Regions from separate parts of the Homo sapiens genome. Here all the other regions are linked to region 3. The links are contacts of gene promoters, found by promoter capture Hi-C in blood cells and fetal thymus (Javierre and others, 2016). All regions are on one chromosome and are shown on one strand. Each heading gives the region's core, a stretch centred on a gene start or on the middle of the fragment in contact. The rest is flanking DNA. Distances are from core to core; before and after follow the strand shown. Region 1 overlaps TMEM64 (transmembrane protein 64). Region 2 overlaps TMEM64 (transmembrane protein 64). Region 3 holds the start of C8orf88 (chromosome 8 open reading frame 88).

The links. Contacts are between HindIII fragments. The CHiCAGO score rates a contact against its expected background, and 5 or more counts as called.
Region 1: a fragment that was not itself captured here is called in contact with the fragment with the promoter of C8orf88 in region 3 in 4 of 17 cell types (naive B cells, total B cells, total CD8 T cells and 1 more); the score reaches 8.8 in naive B cells.
Region 2: a contact is called between a fragment that was not itself captured here and the fragment with the promoter of C8orf88 in region 3, in 6 of 17 cell types (fetal thymus, megakaryocytes, erythroblasts and 3 more). The highest score is 11.0, in fetal thymus.

Annotation. Positions count from the first base shown.
Region 1 is chr8:90,624,075-90,627,799 of GRCh38, reverse strand. TMEM64 (transmembrane protein 64) reads left to right here. Exons shown (of 3, transcript NM_001008495.4): 3 at 1,938-3,725. The coding sequence ends at 2,129. Among named protein-coding and RNA genes, the nearest start is that of LINC01030, 20 kb to the right of the region's middle. The HindIII fragment of the contact is 413 bases long and covers 1,232-1,644 here.
Region 2 is chr8:90,641,451-90,644,932 of GRCh38, reverse strand. The region is part of intron 1 of TMEM64 (transmembrane protein 64); the gene reads left to right. Among named protein-coding and RNA genes, the nearest start is that of TMEM64, 2.9 kb to the left of the region's middle. The HindIII fragment of the contact is 2,145 bases long and covers 181-2,325 here.
Region 3 is chr8:90,983,716-90,986,954 of GRCh38, reverse strand. C8orf88 (chromosome 8 open reading frame 88) reads left to right here and starts at 1,717. Exons shown (of 6, transcript NM_001190972.2): 1 at 1,717-1,841. RefSeq lists a silencer at 1,534-1,693. The HindIII fragment of the contact is 2,363 bases long and covers 78-2,440 here.

The DNA.
Region 1 (3,725 bases), core at 189-2,688, 360 kb after region 3:
CCACTTGCCTAGCTTATGCTTAACTTCTTCCTTTCACCCCTTATATCTGTGTTTTTGAAGATCCTAGCTTAAGTTTTCTAGTCCTACTCTGAAAACTTTTTTACAGCAAATCCAGTTACTCTGATGGTTGCTAATATGTGTATTTGGGTCAAGACCCTCCGCCTGCCCTCATCCTACTCCCCAGCACTTGTCTTTAGCTCAGCCCTCTTTCCATAGCTTCAGACCCCTTCACTGACATCCATGAACTTTTTTGGATATCTAAGAGGCACCTCGAATTCAGCATGTCTTAAACAGAAGGTAGCATCTAATTCACAAAGCACCCGCCCCCGCCCCCATATTTTTTTCATCTCTTTACATGGTGTTTCCATTTGTTGATACATAGCAAACTTAGGAGTTTTCGGTAAATATATCTTGTTTCTTTTAAGAGAAGTAACAGAAAACAGTTACAGAATTTAAAGACCCAGCTTTAAGATGCCTAACTTATTTACGATTTTACTGAGTGATGGGTACTCATTTAATGGCACCCCCTTGTGCAAGTTCCAAGTTCCTCCCCTCTCACACTTACCATACCCCCAGTATGCTCTGCTTCTGTTATCTCCTCCCCCAACCACCCTCAGCACTTGGATTTAGAATACTTTCCCTTTAAAGCTTATGTTATAATTATGGGTAGATTTCATTGAAATTGTATTATATTTCCGTATCACTTTTGGTTACAGCAGCCTTTGTAAACTTGCTGGGACATTAAATAACACCTGCTGTGTTTGCTCCAAATCCTAAAGAACTGATTTACAAATGAACTTTGGAATAAAACTCATTTAGAAAATGTACACTGCTTAGACATTCTGAGGAGCTGTACATAGAATGCTAAAGTTGGCCGGGCACTGTGGCTCATGCCTGTAATCCCAGCACTTTGGGAGGCTGAGGCAGGCAGATCATGAGGTCAGGAGTTTGAGACCAGCCTGGCCAACATGGTAAAATCCCGTCTCTACTAAAAATACAAAAATTAGCCAGGCGTGGGGCGCATGCATGTAATCCCAGCTACTCAGGAGGCTGAGGCAGGAGAATCACTTGAACCCGGGAGGCATAAGTTGCAGTGAGCCGAGATTGTGCCACTGCACTGCAGCCTGGGCGACAGAGCGAGACTCCATCTCAAAAAAAAAAAAAAAAAAAGAAAGAAAAAAAAAGTACAGAGGGACCACAGCTTCCTATAGGACAATGAGAAACTGAAGCTTCCCTAAATCACACATCACTAGTGAATAGCTAAGCTAAGACTAGAAACCTGACTTTCAATTTGATCAGTGTGATGATTTTTCTAGTATCCCTTTGACTAACATTTTTAAATAATCATCATGTTTTCCTCTGATTTTGTTTTTTCCTAAGTACAGGCAATTACTTGTTCACAATCTCTTGTTAATTCTTTGGAAGTTTATTGGCATTTCATTTTTTTAAGTGGTCTGTAATACTTTTAATTTTGTCTTCACCAGGTAGTTCATTGCAAATAGTAGTGCTTCTCACTAAGTGGGCTTAGAAATACCTATGGACATTTATAGTCATGCAAAGGTATAATACTACATTAATTATACCAACAAAGTTTAGCCAGCTGTTACCTCTATTGTAGACATTTTTTATTCCTTGAAGAAAGCTTTTTGGTACAAAGAGACAGGTTTGGCTTGTATCAAGTGAACCAAAAGGAATGTGTGTTTTCCTAATACCATGTCATGGTTACCTGTAGACTTTGGTCCTCCACTACCAGGAGAAGCAGCAAAGGAAAGAATAAACAATAACTGTGTGTAAACTATTTAAAAATGTATAACCCTTTACCTACCATCTTTGAGAAGCACCCTGTTTGAAGCATTTCTAAGCCAAATATTTATTGGATTTATTTCTTTTTTTTGTATAAAATATTGATAACTGTAATGTTTTATTTTTATTCACAGATTATTATAAGTATAGGCCTCATGTTTTATGTAGTTCATCGAGCTCAAGTGGAATTGAATGCAGCTATTGTAGCTTGTGAAATGGAACTGAAATCTTCTCTGGTTAAAGGCAATCAACCAAATACCAGTGGCTCTTCATTCTACAACAAGAGGACCCTAACATTTTCTGGAGGTGGAATCAATGTTGTATGATTCTAATGAGATACGTGATTGTCAAGAGCCTAGTGTGCTATCTAAGGTCTAGCAGTCACTTCACTAGTGGGCAGAGACAAGTTCTAATTGTATTACAGCACAAACAAAACTGACTAGTTTTTAAATTGCACAATTTTTTTTTTTTAAAGCAAGAATCATTTTCTGGGTATGTAAGTGTAAATGTAGATGCAAATTTGGCTGCACCTCTTTATCATGCCTGTATTGGCCTATAGGTCTGCACTTTAGTGTTTTTTAATTGTTTTATTTCTGTGTATTTACGAACAGAGAAATAACCCAAATATTATTTCTGCTTAGTGTCTTTATTTATAAAGCCCATGAGTAGTTTGTATGCATCTTTCCTACTTGTAAAGATGAGTAAAAGTATGCAGTTTTAAATTTATAATATTATTGGATGTTCTTTGCTTTGGTAGTCTTTCCAGAAAGGATAAACAGTGGTTTTTGTTTTGTTTTGTTTTATTGTTTAAGTGGGACCACTTAGCTTCCCGTTTCCTTACTAGTTAAAGAACAGACATTAATTTTCAGTTGAATGTATTTTTGCAGGCATCATATTGTTACAGGGCCATTTACACCTATTCACAAAGCTTAAATCCTACCTTGTGGGACTGAAGTGCTCTTAATATAACTGTTTATTTTCACTGTGTAATATGCAAAGCAAAAGGGAAATTATTTGGTGGATGGTAGCTCAAAATTGGAACTCTTGTTCTAATTCAGTTACATTGGCTTTACCCTCCTTAGATTTTTCATCAAAGGGCTGTCCCATTGCAATCTTACTAAAACATTTTGTTAAAATAAACTCTTTTCCTTTTTATATTAATAATTAGGCTTTTAAATAAAGATGTTATTCCTTTAAAATGGTGGGCTTACCATCATTGAAGATGTCACTCAGGTGGCCTTGTTTGATCAAAACGCCTTTTTTAAAAACCAAGCTTTAAAAACATGTTTATAATTTCATGAAGTACATATATATTGTTCCCATAGTCTTCAGCTTTAAAACTATAAATATGCCCAAATTTTGTTATTTGCCCTACTTTAAGTAGGTTTATTGTGTTTGTTTTTTCAGTACTTGTTTTTCTCTGATAAGACTCAGGAATTCTGAAATGTGAAATTGTCTCAATTCTTTCTCTTGTAGCATGAATCAAATGTATTTATTAATAGCACTTATGACTATAGAATATAATTTGGCATATGATTCATATTACATATGTATTCGTTTTATTTTTAAAATAGTTTATAAACTTAATGATTTTTTTTTACAAATGAGGTTATAGATATTAATGCAAATTTTCTGGTAGGTATCTCTTTTTTTGCTATGATGATTCCAACTTATCAGAGACCTCCCATTTGCCTTTTCATTACGGTGAAAGCTTTGCCCTCATCTACTAAAGTACAAAGGAATTCTTTGGAAGCAGATTATTCTAGTCTTATGCTAGAGATGAATTTGATCATTTTAATGTGTGATCTTTTTGCTCTATCAGGTATAATTGTTTTCCTTTCCTTTATAATGGGTAAGTTTTCTCACCTTTGAGTAACAGTAAAGTTCATTTATATGTCCATACCTAGAAGACCAGTGCAAAT
Region 2 (3,482 bases), core at 4-2,503, 340 kb after region 3:
CGCGGAGCCTCGAAAGAGAGTTTGTTAGATAAAAAACTAATGTTTCTTTTAGGGATGGGAATGTAATTAAAAATGAAAAGCCCTCTTAACAATAGGCATGCAGGGACATGAATGGAAATGCCCATCTTTAATACTTGTCATCTTTTGTAGCAGCTTTGGCAACATTTAGGGAGGAAAGCTTTCTCTCTTGCTTACATAAATACATCCAGGGTTTTGATTCAAGTTTTTAGCGACATGGACCAAAGGAAGTGTTTCAGTAAACAGTGGAGGAGCTAGTTGCAGACTCCAGATTTTGGAGTTTGCTAAATTTGAAATGGGCTTTTTCTTCTTCAAGTAATTGTGCTTTAATGTGATGTAAAGAAGAAAATCCTACTGTTTATCTTTCTTTCTTTGGAGGAACTTCATTTCGAAATCACGGGGTGGTGAATAAAACAGAACAGATAATCTTTTGCTCAGTTAGCATATATTTTTCTTCTGTATCTGCACCATTATAGACTCTTTTCTGTCCTTGTATTCATATGTTTTGCTTACTCAGGTTTCTATAGCTAGTGTGCATCTCCATGCAACTGATTTAGGATAGAAACACTGCTAGTGAAGAGATCATCTTATTGGAAGAAAGGAATCTGGTCTTTACAAACTTTGTGACTTTGGATCAAGTTACTGACCCTGTCTGGCTTCACTTTTCTCTTTTCGAAAGTGAAGGACTTAAAAAAGTAGATTACCATGTTCCCCAAATTCAGTGATTCTAAACTACCAAGAGTTTATGTAGATTCCCAGGAACTTAACCCTTCAGCTAGACTTAAAGAAAACTTACTGAAATAAAGAGATAATTGCATTCAAAACCATAGGAATTGATGTATTTTAAGTGATTCTGATGCATTATTTTGTTTCAAAACGTAAATTATTGTTAGTTTCTGGAAACTTTCTCATTTTGTTTTGAATTAGGAATAATACTAACCAATCTGCCTCTTTGTGATGAAATTAAAACCTTTCTCTTTTTTCTTTTCTTTTAAATGCCTTTTGCAAACCTCTTGATTCCAAGCAACAGCAGCAATGACTATGGAATGGTATTTGGTAGAGGCAGTGGAAACAGATAAGGGGTTTTCTGTAGAGATAAAGTTTAGTGTTAGCAGTAGTTTGGTATAGTCTTAGTCTTAAATTTCTTTTTCATACCCTCCTATAGTATGAAATATAAACTTGAACTTTGACCCAGTCTTGGGTAATAATAAATAAACTGTCCCAGGACTTTGAAAGAAGGTTGGGCTAAGGAACCTAAATAGATTGATTCTGTTAGTTTGTGTTTCAATATAGCATGTATCCTTGGGCCTTTTCTTGTCCATCTACCGTGTGCCAACTACTGTCCTCGGCTCTTTCCACATATTTCTGATCCTTAAACCAGCCCTGCAGAAGTTAATTATGCACATATTATAGACTAGTGTCTACTAGTTGGGAGCACAGGGCTGGTGTTGTGAAATCCTGCTGTCTGCTTAGAATCTAGTGACCTTGGGCAAGTTGTTTATTCTCTCTGGGCTTCAGTTTCTTATTTGTAAAATGAGGAAAGTAATGATACCTACTTCCATAGGATTATTGAGAAGATTACATGAGATGAATACATGCAGCAGAGCCTGGCTTAACAAACACGTGTTGGCTTTTGTCGTTTCTGTTGTTATGACCCAAGGTCACCAAGGTACTAAATTAATGGTAGAGTCAAACTTTGAACCATGGTCTGATGGCAGTGTCTCAACCAACCACCTCTTTATTTCTTGAATATATATTTAATGCCTGGTGTAGTCATGGGTAAATAGTAAGGGCTCATTATGTATTTATCGACTGACAATAAGGTAGGCTTTTCTTTTGATTTTGTCTCTTACATATTAAGTATATAACTAAGAGGTTGTATTTTGTGCTTGGTAATAATTTAAGGTAATCATGTAGTTGAAACTGAGCTTGACAAGGGACAAATCTCAATTTAGCATTGTGTGGTCAATAAAAAAGAAGGGAAAAAAAAGAAAAATGGCCTCTTGCAATAGGTATTATTGTCACCATTTCACTGAGAAGAAACAGAGGCTCAACCATCCAGGAACTTCTTCAGTCACCCACCTACCAAGTGGCTGAGCTAGGGTTTGAACCCAGGATCAGCTGATATGGTGCATCTTACTGTAAAATTTTGACTCAGCCATAGCAGGGTGGACTGTGAAGCCCCTGGATATGGTCTGTTATGTCCTGTTTATACCTATTGTTCTGAACTGCCTGCTTACAGAAGTAGTCCTTTCAACAAAAACAGTTTACTGAATTCAGCCAAGATATGTGAAAGAAAAGAAAGCTTAGTTAAGGCTGATGTTGGTTTTAGTCTGACTTGACTTTCTGCCTTCTAGAACTCCATTCTGCCTCCTCATGTATCCTCTCCACCTCATACCCCTCCTGCTGACCATAGCTGCCCCCTTTTCTAGGCATATTTCTTGTGTTTTCCACATCCCTCCCTATCTTTGAAATCATCCTTTTTTTTTTAAAGAAAAAAATTCCAGTTAAAACTCATTTTTTTTGTGTGCCCATAATTAGAGAAATTCATCTGGGCGTACCTCAAAGAAGTTAGGTGTAGTGGTCATGTGAGGCCCAGGCTTTGGAAATAGATGATCCTGAATTAGTCTGTGCCATCTGGCCTTCTCCATTTCCTCATCTGTAAAATAAAGTAGTTATGAGGCTTAAAAAAGCTGATACAGTGAAGGCATTAAGTATTTTGTCTGGCTCATAGTCACTTCCCAGTAATTGTTAAGTGTCATTATTGTTTGTAGTGGTGGAGGTAGTTGTATTCACATTTTAGAAGCAGGAGCTGATTGTAAAGGATAATATATGGAAGAAGGAAAGGTGCTTTCCCTTGCTTATCTCCTCTGAACCATTTTTTCCCCTTCTCCCATGCATGGTAGAAACTTGAAATGAGATTGGTTCCAACATTTACAGTGTCATCTTGAAGTAGTTATAGTTACTCTTTTGAGCTATACTTTCTGTTGTGGGATGTGTTTAATAATACCTGCTGCAAAGCTGTGATAAAATATATAGTTTGCTCATTATTTACTATTTCTTTCTCACCATCCTCTGCCTTCCAAAATAAGGACAGTGAAGTTGAGCTACTTTTTAAAAAAATTTAACAAATACCTACATTGTACTTAACTAATTCCTGGGCACTGTTTAATCATGCACACATAACTTATTTACTGTTCATTTCAGCCCTGATCCTCATCTTATAGCTGAAGCAGTTGAGGCACAGTGGTGAAATAACTTGCTCAAGATTACACAGTTAGTAAATGTTTAGAGTCATTAACTTATCCAGGCACTAGTGTTGGTCCAAGAAGAGCTGGATTTCCCAGACACATCCTGATTCCAGTTATAGAATACTTGTCTTAGAGCACCTTAAAGATCAGACATTATGGAGGACTGGGTAAGGTTCTATACAGTTGACTTAGGTATCATCCCAGATGTTAGAG
Region 3 (3,239 bases), core at 468-2,967:
TCCCTGGTGATAATGAATAATGTGGTAGTCTTTTCAAAGCAAAGTTAGTCAACATGTATTTTTTGTTATTGAAAGCTTAAAAAAGTTATTGCAGTTTCACAATTTGTTATTGGTAATAATGCCAATTTTTAGTATTGCTAAATTTGGGGAAACTCATCTTAAGGTTCTTAGGTGAACTCTGTGATTTCAGGGCACTTCAAGTTTTCTCAGGCAGTGACTAACCTTTAAGTTGCTAAAAGTCATTAACCTGTTTGTTGTCAAGTTCTTGTTGTAAAGGTATGAATTCTAGATTATCCTTGTAGATGCCAAAATTTTATGTCATTATCAATAAGATTTTGAAAAGTTTCGATATGTTTATATGGTTCATTTTTCTTCCTCAATTATCAAAAAATCAAGGAGTCTGTCTAGTCTAATTTCTCTCTTCCTCTCAATAAATTACTAATACTGATCTGAATTGGAATTCTTCCAATTTACATTTTTGTCACAATAGTTTCTACTGACTTCATACAGTGATATGCACAAAATAATTTTATTGTAAGATGTATATAAAATTATACATGCTTCATTGTTAAGTATATTCCTGAAGAAGAAAACTTCTGTTGTGACTAGATGGATGAGAACCACATCCTGCACTTAAGATTTTCTACATCTGGTGGTTGGAATATATTGATTCCACTGTGCAGACTTCTGGTGCCTCACCCCAAGGGATGCCCTTTTATCATGACCCATCTCTGACCCTGGACCCTAGGTCTCTGATGCCAGGCGAGTTGTCTCAGTGGATAGTAGGAGTGTTTCTGGAAGCCATTTCTAAACGGAGACAGCTCCAATAACTTGACTATACATGGAAGTGCTTGTGAAACTTCATACCTTCCAAAATGGTAAATCCTGATAGTGCCCCACTTAAAACCGTTCAGTGTTTGCCAGTGCATTTTCAACTGTCCTTTTGGTGCTTGGGGACGTGAGGGACTGCCACCTCCACGTCCCTCAGTACAAGCAGACAGTCCCCCTCTGGGGACACTCAAAGATAATGAAAAATTAGCAAAAGGATTGAAGGTGAAGATTAAAAAGAAATGATTCGGATGGAGTTGCCTTAATTCATTTTGTTCCTTTCAGGATGGCAGTCTGTGTGAAACGCTGTATCCCTGGTCTGAGGTAAACCAGGTCTCAAACATCTTCCTCCCTGCCAACCCGAATCCCGACACCCACTAAATGCACCAAGGGGAAAGCAGCGCCTGCCAGCAGCTCTGACGGGGGACAGGAGTAGGGTGGACTCAGTCGTCAGCACGACGGCGGCCTCCCTCACAGAGGCGGCCTCCCTCACAGACGCTGCCTGGAACCCGCCGCCAAGCCCCCAGCAGGCGGCCCGCCTGGCGCCTCCCAGTCTTCGCACAAGCAGGGCCACGGTCTGGGGCCCCCAAGGCCGTTCACGCGGGCGCGCCCCGTCGAGGGCTAGCCTGTCAGCGCCTCACTCGCGGCCTCCTACCCTAGACGACCGGCTCTGGGTGGCGCCGCTCCAACCCCACGCGCCCAGCTCGCCCGGGAAAGCGCGCGCCACCCTTTTAACGGTTCTACCCCGGCAGGGGTGCGGCTGCTCTCGAGGCTCAGCGCCCGAGGCCACGCCCCGCGCCCGCCCTGGGCCCGCCTCGTGCCCCTCGGAGCCGCCTCCCGCCCCGCCCCCCGCCCCTCGCCCCCCGCCCCTCGCCCCCCGCCGCCGCCACCGCGGTCAGCCAGCGGACCAGCGGCAGGAGCCGTTCCCCGACGGGCAGCAGGGCGCTCGGCCTCCGCGTGTGGGCTGAGCGCGGCGACGCTGCTGCCCCGAAATCCCCGTGGATTTTGAGTCGGTAAGTGGCTAGGGAGGATGAGCGACACTGGGGGACGGAAGTCGGGCCCCGTGGTGTGGAGGAGGCGGGTGGGCGCCGTCTCCCAGGCCCGACCCCGGGAAAGTTGAGGCGAGGAAGAGAAGCTCTGAGGTGGGTCGGGAAATCTCTCAGGGCCCCTTCAGTACCCTGTGGACCCTGAATGGGAGTGGGATGGGAGCGAGAGCGTCGGATGAGGGGAAAGAAAGTGTAGGGGGCCAGGGGAGCCCGACGGAGGGGCAAGTGGCCGAGACCAAAGCCATCGCCAAAAAAGGAGCTAAGTACACAGCTCCCCTTGGCTCTGCCCCAGCACCTGGTGCCAGGCGGTGGGAGGCTTTCAAGACGATTTGCCCCCTCCACCCGGTGGCACAAGGTTTTCATTGCTGGTGTTTTAGTCAAAGCTACGGAAAGGACAGTTACATGACTAAAGTAATCACAGACACCTATTACCTGGACAGCTTTAGCCCATCCGAATGTTAAATTGTGTTTTGTTTTGAGAAATCCCTCAAATAGACCAAAAAAAAAATTAAATTAGTTATAAAGAGAAGGCATGAAATGGAAGATATGTTGGAACTCTCCAAGCTTCTAGTTTTTTGATATTTTCGTTTTAATTTTTCCTTAATAGTGCAACCAGATATATGGAACGTGAAATGTCTTTCACCACTTGAGTCATAGGTGGTTTATTTCTTACTCCCCGATGTTTCCTGTATGTTTCTCTTCATCTATCATTTTGTCAGTGTGAGCAGTTTACTTACAAGCAGTATTGGGTTTCAAGGAATCCTAACTTTGTAATGTTTTGAAGTTGGAAATTGAGATGAAATTTTATCTGGTTATCATATGGGAATTATACACAAGGTAAATTCAAATATGGTCTTTTCATTTCATTATTTCACTTTATATGATCTTATTTCTCAACGGCAGCGGTAGCATCAGTACTTTCCAAAGAAGACTAGAATTTATATTGGAGTTTAAGTATAGTACTCAGCTTCTAAAAACAGTGCATAGTATATTTCATATGCTGTGATCTATGGTTAGTATGGCAGTATACCATGTCTGTAGCGTGAGGAAAGCACAGTACTCCCTAATTTATTTAGTATTCTAAGAAAAATGGTAAATTGAAGAAATGGATATTATTAGCATATACCAATTTATTCTGCATGGCCTTATAAATAAATGTTACTTTTCACATTAATTTTTAAATCTATACACGCAGTGTCCACATGTAATAAATGGACAGTCAGATATCTTTCTTTTATGTAACAAATAGGCAAGTTTTGATATAAAGGTGTGAACTTTGTAGTCAAATCCTAATATCTAGCACTTAGTAGCTATGTGGACTTGGGCATGTCTCTTATTTTTCTGAGCCTCAGGTTTCTTATCTGT